4 separate regions of the Homo sapiens genome follow, and all the other regions are linked to region 1. The links are contacts of gene promoters, found by promoter capture Hi-C in human tissues and cell types (Jung and others, 2019). All regions are on one chromosome and are shown on one strand. The core of a region is centred on a gene start or on the middle of the fragment in contact, and the rest is flanking DNA. Distances in the headings are between cores, read along the strand shown. Region 1 holds the start of SCN4B (sodium voltage-gated channel beta subunit 4). Region 2 overlaps UBE4A (ubiquitination factor E4A). Region 3 has its middle 12 kb from the start of TMPRSS13. Region 4 overlaps CD3E (CD3 epsilon subunit of T-cell receptor complex).

The links. The method cuts DNA at HindIII sites, captures the fragments that hold promoters and counts their contacts. A contact is called where the count stands out against the background at its distance.
Region 2: a fragment that was not itself captured here is called in contact with the fragment with the promoter of SCN4B in region 1 in 5 of the 25 tissues and cell types used here (dorsolateral prefrontal cortex, heart right ventricle, mesenchymal stem cells and 2 more).
Region 3: a contact is called between a fragment that was not itself captured here and the fragment with the promoter of SCN4B in region 1, in 2 of the 25 tissues and cell types used here (lymphoblastoid cells and thymus).
Region 4: a contact is called between a fragment that was not itself captured here and the fragment with the promoter of SCN4B in region 1, in 1 of the 25 tissues and cell types used here (lymphoblastoid cells).

What each region holds. Positions count from the first base shown.
Region 1 is chr11:118,151,311-118,154,198 of GRCh38, reverse strand. SCN4B (sodium voltage-gated channel beta subunit 4) reads left to right here and starts at 1,376. Exons shown (of 5, transcript NM_174934.4): 1 at 1,376-1,586. The coding sequence starts at 1,526. RefSeq lists an enhancer at 258-758. The HindIII fragment of the contact is 20,039 bases long and covers 1-2,888 here.
Region 2 is chr11:118,382,192-118,385,079 of GRCh38, reverse strand. UBE4A (ubiquitination factor E4A) reads right to left here. Exons shown (of 20, transcript NM_001204077.2): 13 at 2,304-2,491; 14 at 345-445; 15 at 135-248. The region is part of intron 3 of LOC100131626 (a long non-coding RNA gene); the gene reads left to right. Among named protein-coding and RNA genes, the nearest start is that of ATP5MG, 18 kb to the left of the region's middle. The HindIII fragment of the contact is 4,714 bases long and covers 1-2,888 here.
Region 3 is chr11:117,940,393-117,943,280 of GRCh38, reverse strand. No RefSeq gene overlaps it. Among named protein-coding and RNA genes, the nearest start is that of TMPRSS13, 12 kb to the right of the region's middle. The HindIII fragment of the contact is 6,208 bases long and covers 1-2,888 here.
Region 4 is chr11:118,309,069-118,311,956 of GRCh38, reverse strand. The region is part of intron 4 of CD3E (CD3 epsilon subunit of T-cell receptor complex); the gene reads right to left. Among named protein-coding and RNA genes, the nearest start is that of CD3E, 5.8 kb to the right of the region's middle. The HindIII fragment of the contact is 5,427 bases long and covers 1-2,888 here.

The DNA.
Region 1 (2,888 bases), core at 127-2,626:
TCTGTGCCACTATAGGGAAGGCAGCGACCCTCTCTCCTGAAAAAGCAAACAGACATTCAGCACTTTGCCTGCAACCTCAAGGGGTCCGTGATCACGCCGAAGTCCACCCAGAGACCCCTCGTTAAGAAGGCGGTGCGTTGGTGTGCCTGCAGCAGAAGTCAGACCATGAAGTGGGAGCGGGCTTCCCAGTCCGGACCAGTCCTAGACAGTAAAGAGGGCCTGTGATGCAGGGAGGGTCTTGGATGGTTGGAAAGGTGCTGAGGAGGAGATCGACTCATTTACAGAACCACCAGCCCAAGTAGCACCGCTCAGGTGAAACTCTTTCACTTGGGCCTGTCTGGGAAAAGGCTTACTCGTTCACAGCCTCGCCTCAGCCCTCTGACCTGGTTGTCACCCTGGACTCCTCCACCCCTACCCCAAAAGGGAGGCCGAGGGAGTCTGCCGTTCCGAAGAAAACAGGAGAGTTGGAGGAGGGCGAAAAGGCAGCATCTGAGGGGGACGGCCTAGGTAGGAAAAATGAGAAGCAGGGGTGCAGCGGGAGGGTGAAATGGGGCGCAGGACACAGACCAGGCGCGGACCAACCTGCTCCCTAACCTGGAGCGTGGTGATTTCCAAGGGGTCCATGGAGAAATGTGGGGCGGGGTGGCGTGGGGGTGGGGGAAGGGAGGGCCGGGGCAGTTTGCAATGGGAAAGCTCTGTTCCGGGCTTCCTAAAACAACCGCCGGAGTTGCTGAGCGATGGGGCAGAAGGTGGCGGGAGCGGGTCCCGAGGCTGCACGCGCGCCATGTCGCACGCCACCGAGGAGGCGCAAGCTGCAGTGGGCAAGCCCGCACACGCCCACCCGTTGCGGCAGCGTCCGCTGCGGACTTTAAAGCGGTCCCTTGGCGGTCCTGGGAGAGGGAGCCGCTAACCTTCCCGTGTTCCCCCAAGCAAAGCAAAACAGTCTTCCAGCAACCGAAAAGCTCCACCTCTACTCCCCCCGAACTATGCTCCTAATTGGCAGCTCAGCGCATGGGATGATGCGGGTGGCTGCAGGCCGGCCCTGCAGTGCCAGCCGCAGCAGCCCAGCCCCACTGGAGAGGGAGTTGGGGGCACGGCGTGGTCCCGGGGCTCCGGGACCGCGAGGCGGGGTGCGGCAGGCAGGGTGCGCAGCGGGCGGGGGCTCCCCGGCCTACGCGGCGGCCACCGCCCCTCCTGCGGCTGGAGCGCTTCCAGAGCAGAGGCGCAGCCTCGCTCGCCGCTGCGCTCGCTCCGTCTTCCTCCCGCTCCTGCTCCGGCTCCTCCTACTCCTTCCCTCCCGCCGTTGCTCCAGCAGCCGGCTCCCAGCAGCGGGCGAGCGCGCCTCCCCCTCCGCTCCCTCCCTCCCCCTCCTCTCGCTCTCTGCCCGCTAACTTTCCCGAGCCCCGACCGGCGGCGCAGAGCTCCGGGGTAGCTTTGTGGCCGAACGCCGACCTCGGGCGGAGAGCGCGGCTGTGCCCAGTATCCCATCCCCGCGACCCCCGCGCGCTCCGGAGAGAACAGGACTATGCCCGGGGCTGGGGACGGAGGCAAAGCCCCGGCGAGATGGCTGGGCACTGGGCTTTTGGGTAAGGCAGCCCCAGCTTGGTCTCTTCTCTTGCCTCCCCCCACCCCCAAAGAAGGGGACACTCGAGAAGGAAGATGCCTTGGATGGGGTGGGCTTTGGAGTGCGGCACGGAATGAGGATGGTGGCCGCCGGCTTCCTGCCTGGTTCCTGCCTGGTTCATAGGCTGTGCTCCCTGGGGACCGTGTGCGTCCCTCTCTACCCCATCAGCCCGCCAGTCTCAGGATTAGTTTTTTTGCTGTCCTTGGCACCTTCGGCTCCAGGTATTTGGAGCTGGATCTTGGGGCTGCAGCGCGGGTCTCCAGAGTTCAGAGGTTCAGGATGCTGGAGGAGGGGGGTCCGTGCCTTGAGTGCAGGGGATACCAGGTGGGTTGCACGTGTGACTGTTGGAATGGTGGTTTCCATCCCGGCCCAGAGCCGTTTGCTTGTTTCCCAGGCACCAGGCATGCACCAGTTGGGGGTGGGGGAGTCCCCTTCTTCCTGGGCCCTTTTCCTGCTTTGCTCCTCTGCCCTGTACCTCCCTCAGGAGCCACTGCCTTCCCTACAGCAGCACCTGAAAGCTGGAAGGGGCTGGAGGGGCTTGCGGGATCATTCAAGGCCCTTTAGGAACGGCCTTGTCTCTCTTCCTACAAAGAGATTCCGTAGGGAAGACCTGTTTGACCTGCTCCTGGCTCTTCATTTTTGAAGTGAATATGGAGACAGAGAAGACATGTCCAGAGGACACGGAGGAAGAAGCATTATTAATATCTATTAATATGCACATGAGAGTTTTGAGTGTCAAACTCCAAGAGATTAGGGAATGATATTTATTCATCCAGGATGTAATCTCCTCATAAATCATAGCCAGACTTTAATGTAAGCCGACTCCATCTCTGGCAACGGCATCTCTTCCTGTTTATATTGGTCAGATTTGGCTTTTGGCAGCTCCCTGCATTGGGTAAGACACACGGTGTAGGTATTTCTGCTGAAAACAGGGAGACAGAACCCTATAAGGGAAGTGGCTACTGTTTCTGCGAATGTAAACTGTGTGCAGATCTAGCAGGTTGGTGCCTGGTGGTGAAGAGGGGAGAGAGTATTTCTTGTACTTGGGATGTTTATTTACCTCTGTACCGCTAGATGGAAGACACCCTTGTTTTCTCCTGTACCTTGGCACAGATGTCATGCTGGTTTCACAGTGACCTTAATGAAGTGGGCCTTAGTGACGCCTGAGGCTCCTTTTCACAGGGTGGGCACAGCGCCATTCCATGCTACTTCCCCTCATCCCATCTCAGATCAGCCCAGGTCCCCATGGTGGCAATGGCAGGGG
Region 2 (2,888 bases), core at 258-2,757, 230 kb before region 1:
CAAATTTTTGGTGTTCAAGTCTGGTACTAGGGGCATAAGGACTGCTCTATTATGATTAAAAGGTAAAATGTATGTACTGCTGATGATTTGATGGTATGGAGAAGTTAAATCTTTTTTTTTTTTTTTTTTTTTACCTGTATGGCTTCATCCAAAAGGAAGATGGCATCATTCATTAGCAGGTTAAGAAAGCGGAGGAAAAGTGGGGGATTCATGGCTTCTAAATTCTTAGAGGCATAGTCAGCCAAATCCTGTAAGTCCCAGCCCACAAGAAAACCATTTTAGTACTGAATTACAACTCATTAGGGCTTATATAAAGCAACAGGTTTCATCAAAAACTCTCTCACCTTAATGCTCTCCCGATAGGTATCTGTCCCCCACATGTATCTTAGGATAGGATACATGGGACGGCGGTAATTAAACTTCTGTTCAAATTGATGGGGGTCTCCTGGAGTAAGGCAAGAGCGAAATATCAGCAAAGGCGGTGCCATAAGAGGAAGAGTTTATGCTTATGTGTAGCCATTTGCTTTGTAGTCATTTGCTTTTGAGTGTGTTAAGGCTACTAACAAAATCTGCCCTGGAGTTTCTAAAGGCCTAGAGTTATCGCCAAGTGTTTGCTCATTTCCTTACTGATGAAGTAAGGGGGAGACAGAGATAAAGGATACCTTACTCTGCAAGAGACAAGTACCAAGCTGTAAAATAAAAGTTAAGGGAAACAAATGTTTCCATATCCAAACATGAGTACTTCTCAGGCTTTAAATGAGGGCTCAGGGCTGGCCATTATGGCAGTGAAAGCCATGTGCAGGACGGGACACTAAGCAATTCCCACATTCTTCACAGACAATATCCCAAACTGTGTAGCCAACAGGTTCTTGATTACTCTGAAAAATCAGGTCAGGAGCTAAAAATCTGAGGCTTATACTGCTTTTGAAATACCAAAGGTATTACTAGAGCTCCACAGGCTGGGTCATAATAAAGGAAGAGTGTAGGATTTGGAGTCAAAAGACCTACGTTTTCATTCTGGCTCTGCTTAATCTAAGTCTCTTAATCTTCTTCAGCTTCCACTTCCTCAGAAATAAAACAGAAATTGTACTCCATTACAACACTTTGGTTGTATGGTCACATAACGAGATAACTGCAATGATTTATTATACAATTTCTTATGTATTATAAAGATTTACATGCATTATTTCACTTAATCATCACTTTGACCCATTTTATAGATGAGGAAACTAAGGTTGATAGGTGAGCGAATTAAAAAAAACCAGAATCCAAATATGGAAAGGCGGCCAGTAAAATGTTAAATGCCTCTTTAAATGTTAGTTGTATTTATCATTGGATGGTAGATATCCCTTTAAAAAATGGTCTTCAACAACTTCTTAACATATCTTATTTACTGATTGAGACAGGGTACTGTTTAAACAAACACAGGGGCTCAGGGTTAGATAGAGAGGGAATGTTGCCTGCTGGTTTTTTTTTTTTTTTTTTTTTTTTGAGAGGGATTTCTTGCTCTGTCATCCAGGCTGGAGTGGTGCGATCTCAGCTCACTGCCACCTCTGCCTCCCGAATTCAAGCAATTCTCGTGCCTCTGCCTCCTAAGTAGCTGGGATTACAGGCACCTGCCACCATGCCTGGGTAATTTTTGTATTTTTGTAGAGAATGGGTTTCACCATGTTGGCCAGGCTGGTCTCAAACTCAGGAGCTCAAGTGATCTGCCTACTTTGGCCTCCCAAAACGCTGGGATTACAAGCATGAGCCACTGTGCCTGTCCGCCTGCTGGTATTTTTAATCGAACCATTAGACTGTTGGAGAGTTAGATAGTCTGGTTAAGATAAAAGAATCTCTCAACCAATACACTGCCTCTTTATGCACTATTCTGTAATTTTAAGGCAGAGAAATATAAAGACCCAAATAGTCTAATTTGAGTCTGATTTGATGATGCAACATAATAAGGGTGTTGAATATGTAGATTTCTTTAGGTGACACAGACCTGATTCTACCACTTGGTAGTTTGTTATGACATGGACAAACTGATCTTTTGGGCAGTCATGTCTTCATATGTAAAACAAGAATAATTAAAAAATAAAAAATAAATAAAACAGGGATAATAGAGTGAAACTTTTCCAATGGTGACAATGGGATAATGTTAAAAAAAAAAAAAAAGCACTTATCATCAAGCCTGGCATATAGTAGGTATTCAATAAGTAATGGCTTGACATTTCTTTGATATCCAAATACGGATCAAACTATGAAACTCCACTGGTATCAGCTTCCCAGTTCTGGGCTCAGCTTCATGACTGCTTTACCTGTAAATTCGATGTCCACAAAAACCTTGATTAGAGCCTCTGCAAGTTGGGGTGCATACTGAAAGTTGCAGAACACACGTTTCCGGTGGAACACACTGGATACCAAGGGATTTGGGGTCTGATCCAGGTGGGGCATCACTGCTTCCAACACCTCTGCTAGTTTGGCCCTCAGGTGGGGATTCTTCATTCTGCAAAATGGGCAAAAAGCAAGATGAGCAGATAAGCTTAACTCCAAATTTATGACTCTGTTCTCTCCACATAAGAATCAAAATCCACCCTAAACCATATTACAGGAAAAAAAAGGATCCACTTCTGCAGTTTTAAGTTTGTCAGTTTCTTGGTGCGGCTGGGCGGGGGGTGGGGTGGTGATGCAGGGTACATCATTTAACTCTTGAGTTGACAGCTTACCAAATATGACGGTGAGCACTTAAGTTTCTATTGAATGCTTAGCCATTGTTTACTTCTCTGTAATAATGCATTATTTACTGCTTCCTATTCTCTGACAGTTTCATGTGGAATAAACTTGCCTTTTCAAGCTTTCTGAGGGTAAAGACTAGAATATAATTATGCTACATTACCCATGAC
Region 3 (2,888 bases), core at 182-2,681, 210 kb after region 1:
TTATTAGAATCCTCATGTATTATTCACCAGAATTTGTTCCTAACTTTTCACAAGATTTGTTTGGAACCCCCAGCACCTAGCCCAGACCTTGCATATAGGAGGCTCTCAAAATTATTTGTGGAAAATTTCCCCAGAAGGTTAACAGAGTTACCATATGACCCAGCAATTCCACTCCTATGGATATCCCCAAAAGAACTGAAAATATAAGCTCATGCAAAAACTTGCACATCAGTTGATAGCACCATTATTCATGATAGCCCAAAAGGGGAAACAATTCAAACGGCTATCACCTGATGAATAGATAAATAAAATGTGGCATATCCACACAATGGAGTGTTATCCACAGTTATTCACAATACAAAGAAATGAAGTACTGATACAAGCGTCAAGTCCAAGGGAAAAATTCTGCTTCACCCTCTGAAGTTTTGTTGAAAATCACTCACATAAGGCAGATTAATAGGAGAAAAGGTACATAAATTTATTTGACCATAGTTTTAGGTGACACAGGAGCTTTCAGAATGAAGACCCAAAGATACAGGGGAAGTTGTCCATTTTTATGCTTAGGTTCAACAAAGTATAGACAGCTGTGTGGAGAAATACGATTGGACAAAAAGGGTCTGATCTAATGCTAACAGAGTGAGTATGGAAATCCAGCAAGGCTGTCCATCTAGATTTTTGTTGACCCCTTTGAGCATGTGTTCCTTCCTTCTGGGTATGAGGGTCTAATGAACTACAGTCAGGTAAGGTAGGTCACATCATGTTTTATGGCCAGTTTTTACACTGGCGGTGTGGAGTTGGGGAGAGAGATTGATACTTTTAGGTTTTATGGCTGGCTTTGGAGAAAAGGAGTTTGGGTTTCTATGACCCACCTTGGAAAAGAGGGATTCCAGTCTCAACGGCTGGCCTCGGGGGAGAATGGGACTGAGAAACAGGAGGGCAGGAGCAGGTCAGAGAAAAACTTTTGTTTCTGAGGTCTTCATTTTGAGGTGTTGTTTTCTGAGTCCCAACATAAGCCACAGCGCAGATGGACCTTGAAAATATGATGATGAATGAAAGGAGCCAGCCACAGAAGACCACACACTGCATGAGTCCACTTACAGGAAATGACCAGAATAGACACATCTACAGGCACAGAAAGTAGATTCGTGGTTGCCTTAGGGCTTGGGGGAGGGAAGCTGGGGAAGTAAGTGCTAAAGAGTAGGGTATTTCTTTTGGGAATGATGAAAATGTTCTAACGTTTATTGTGATGGTCAATCTTACACAACCCTGAATATACCAAAAACCATCTAATTGTATACTTTAAATGGGTGAACAGTATGGTATGTAAATTCTATCTCAATACAGCTGTTAAAATTTTATGGTGAAATGAATGAATGGATCTGCCCCTTCCGATAGCCTCCTGGCTCTAGAGGAGACACAGCAGGTGGCCCTTGTCCCATGAGCTGGTCTCTGGACCTAGAAATGCACAATTGACAGGTGGCAACTCATACTATTTGTGAACATGCACCCTCCCCGTCTAGGACCTCAGCTCCCTGGCCTTTGGAAGTGCTGGGAGATGGTGGGAAGGGGTCTTGGAGGGCCAGACAAGGTCCAGGCTCAGGAAGCACTTCTGGCAATGTTCTCCCAGCTCTCTGCATCTAGAACAAAGCATTCTTAGTCAGCTGGGCTCACCCCACCCGGAGTAATTACCCTCGTTAGCCCCTCTGTGTGTGTCATCTGCACACATAGGTAATTAAACTGAACGAGGGGCCGTGACTCAGCTGCTCTGCCTCACACCAGCCCTGGCCCAGTGCAGACTGGGAGAACTGGCTCTGCCAGGCACTGGGGGTGAGTGGACAGCCAGGGCACCTGGTGCTGAGCAGAGGATCAGGTGGTGGCACAGGAGGACTCTCTGGTCTTCCTTACTCCTCATCCCAAAACTGGAACCTAGAGCAAGTGGGCCCCAGGTGGGTCCAGGCAGGGCTGAAGATGGTTGGCTGGTTAAACTTGGGGTTAGCCTTGAGGCTCTGAACTCACTCCTATGCCACAGCCTGTGGTTCAGTGTTGAACCAAAGGAGCCTGGGGCAGCCTCAGACTCTGAGGCATGGGCTGAGGCCTAGGAGGACAGACCAAGCACAGGAAGTGGGTCTTTAGAATCCTGGCCTCTCAAATACCCTGCCGCAAGATGTCAGAGGGCTGCTCTGGAATCAGAAGTTTAAGGGAACAACTGCTCAGAAGAGAGGATCTCTGAAATTCCTTCCAGTTCCCATGTTCTGCGCGTCCGATTGTTAATATCCGCTGCACACTTACTCTGTGTGACGGCTCTACCCACACGATCTCATTTCATACCCACATCCCTATACGGCAGATCCTGTTCTCCTGCCTGGATTACAGAGGAGGACATGGAGGATTGAGAAGTCAATTATTTGCTCCAAGTCACAGGCCTTCCATGTAGTGGAGCCTGTATTCAAATCCAGGTCTGCCTGACTCAGAGACCAAGGTCTCAACCATCCATTGCCCATACTCCTTAAATCTATAATTCTAGAAATCCAGGCTCTCCTTCTAGTTAACTTTGAAGAATGTATGTGTGATGTAAGAACCATCTCATGAGAGTAGAGCTGTGATTAATTCAATTAGGGTTATTTTATAGGACACAGTAATTTTTCTTTGTGATGAGAAGACCACAAGAAGCAATTAAGTTATTAAGCAACTATTGTTTGGTACATAGTAGAGATTCAATAAAGGCTTATTTATTGAATAACTGATTGCCTAGATTTGTGCTAGATCTTCTGAGGGGATGCAAAAGAATTCTATCAATCAATTAGTAAGTATTTATTGAGTGCATGGTATAGGCAAAGTACTGGTCAATGTTAGCAGGCAGACCAGACTTCTTTGGATTTTTAAATTTT
Region 4 (2,888 bases), core at 152-2,651, 160 kb before region 1:
GTAGCTCATAGATGTAACTCAGATACATCGGATTCAGAATATACCAGCATGAGCTCCTAGATCTAGATCTACTGAAGCTCAGAAAGCCTTAAAGTCCTAAAGCCGAAAAATTCCAGAGGTCTTCAAGCTTATCCTCTTAAATTAGCCAGAACTGTATTACAGATAGATATGAATGACAAAAGAACCAACCAAATGCAGGAAGTCATCTGTCATCCAGGTCTTAGATTTGCTTGTCAGAAGGGAGCGCTACTGGCCTTCTCAGAAATAAAGCTCTCCACACCACTGAATCACTGATTCGTGGACTTACCTATTTCTTACAATTTAAAATCCTTTCTCAGAACTGAGTCCCTCATAATAGAGAAGAAACATCTTTGTTCTTATTCCATATAATTTTCTCTCTATTTGCCTTTAAATAATGTGAAATACTCTACACGTTTTGAGGGAATGCTTCTTCCAATAAAAAGTGGCTTCACTTTACATTATATCTGAGCATAATCAGCTCTCAATTATTTTTGTTAGAGGGAGGCCTATTAGTGTGGACAACTGAAATCAACTAATAAACCACTAATGCCATTCGTAGGTCCAGCCTGTGTTTCCCACAGCAGCCATTTTTGCCCTGGGAGGTGGAGCTAGGAGTCCTTTATTATTTCCTGGAAAACTTGTGGCTGGAACACTGGGTTCTGCTACAGTCTGGACATAACAGCTGGAAGAGAGGAGAGGCAGTGCTGCTGCTGTCAGGGACAGAGCTCTGGACTCAAGAGTCAGAAGCCCTGAGTTTGAATCCTGGATCTGCCCTAGTCTGTGTGACTGAGGGCAAGTCATTTAACTTTGCTGAACCTCAACTTCTTTATCAGGGAAATGGAGATAAAACACCAACCTCACAAAGTTTTTGCGAAAATTAAATGGATTATGAAGGTGAAAGTGAATGACACATAGCAGGTGCTCAAGAAAAAGTTACTTCCTTTCCTCCTTTCCTTCTTGAGGTCCTGCTACTCCCAGAGCAGAACTAAACTCTGACCCAGTTGCTCAGGCAGCCCTCTGACAAAGACTGCACAGAATGTAAACAAAACATTCTCCAGGTTTTTCCACCTGCTTATAATTGGGAGTTGAGTATAAGGACAGTAGATAGTTTATATTATTTTAATTTATAAATAATTTTTCAACACGGATGTTTCTTAGACATGTTAAATGAACTAGAAATCATAAATAAAGTACATAGACATTATACTCTGCTGGGTGTGTTTGTTTGAAAAAAATGTAAAGAAAATTGCTCACAACTTTTATTGGCACAAATTCAGTAGCAGAGCTTAGACTTAACTCATGCTCACACAAGGGTCTAGATGTCTGTGCTTAGACAGAAATGTGCTCCACGTATGTTCATTGTGCACTATTCACAATAGCAAAGACATGGAATCAACCTAAATGCCTGTCAGTGGTAGACTGGATAAAAAAATGTGCTGCATATACACCATGGAATACTACGCAGCCATAAAAAAGAATGAGATCACGTCCTTTGCAGGAACATGGATGGGACTGGAGGCCATTATCTTTAGCAAACTAACACAGTGACAGAAAACCAAATACCACATGTTCTCATTTAGAAGTGGGAGCTAAATGATGAGAACACATGAACACAGAGGGAAATGACACACACTGGGACCTCTCAGAAGGTGGAGGGTGGGAGGAGGGAGAGGATCAGGAAAAATAACTAACAGGTACCAGGCTTAATGCCTGGGTGATGAAATAATCTATACAACAAACCCCCATGGCACAAGTTTACCTATATAACAAACCTGCACATGTACCCCTGAATTTAAAATGAAAGTTAAGTTAAAAAAAGATATGTGTGCTCACAAAGATTTTATACATATCCAGAAACAGTATTTCATAATGGTTGAGAAAATGAACTTCGGTATCATATAAATCTGCATTAAAATTTTTTTATTTTTAAATTTCTATTTATTAATTTTTTCAGAGACAGGGTCTTTCTCTGCCACAGAGGCTCGAGTACAGTGGCACAATCTTTGCTCAATGCAGCCTCAACCTTCTGAGCTCAAGCGAGCCTCCTGCCTTGGCCTCCCAAAGTGTTGGGATTATAGGCATGAACCATGGCACTTGGCCTAAATCTGCATTTATATCCCCAGGACTGGATTGTTTACTTATTTTTGTTTATTTCTGTATTTATTTGAGGCTTTGTTTCCTTAACTGTACAGTAGGGGTGTTGGAAGAATTAAATGAGGAAATTCAAGTAAAATATTTAGAGCAATGCCTAAAACATACATGCTCAGTAAACTTTAATGCTTATCATCTATAGTCAGCATGCTTTCCATGTATTAATAGCTAAAATTCACCTACTGTCTGTTTGTTTGTTTGTTTGTTTTGAGACAGAGTCTTGCTCTGTCGCCCAGGCTGGAGTGCAATGGCACAATCTCAGCTCACTCCAACCTCCGCCTCCCAGGTTCAAGCAATTCTCCTACCTCAGCCTCCTGAGTAGCTGAGATTACAGGCACCTGCCACCATGCCTGGCTAATTTTTGTATTTTTAGCAGAGATGGAGTTTCACCATGTTGGCCAGGCCGGTCTCGAACTCCTGACCTCAGGTGATCCTCCCACCTCGGCTTCTCAAAGTGCTGGGATTACAGGTGTGAGCCACCATGCCCGGCCCTCCTACTGCCTTTTATGTCAGATAATGTTCTAAGTGCCTTAAATGAATTACTCATTTGGTCCTCATAATAACCCTACAAGTTAGGTAGCACTATTATTTCCATTGTACCATGATGATGCTGTGGCACAGAAAAGTTAGGTAAATTACTCAAACACACCCAGCAAGTAGAGAGTTGAGCCAAGATTCAAACATTCTGATCTAGCTCAGTTAGACTCTTATCCTCA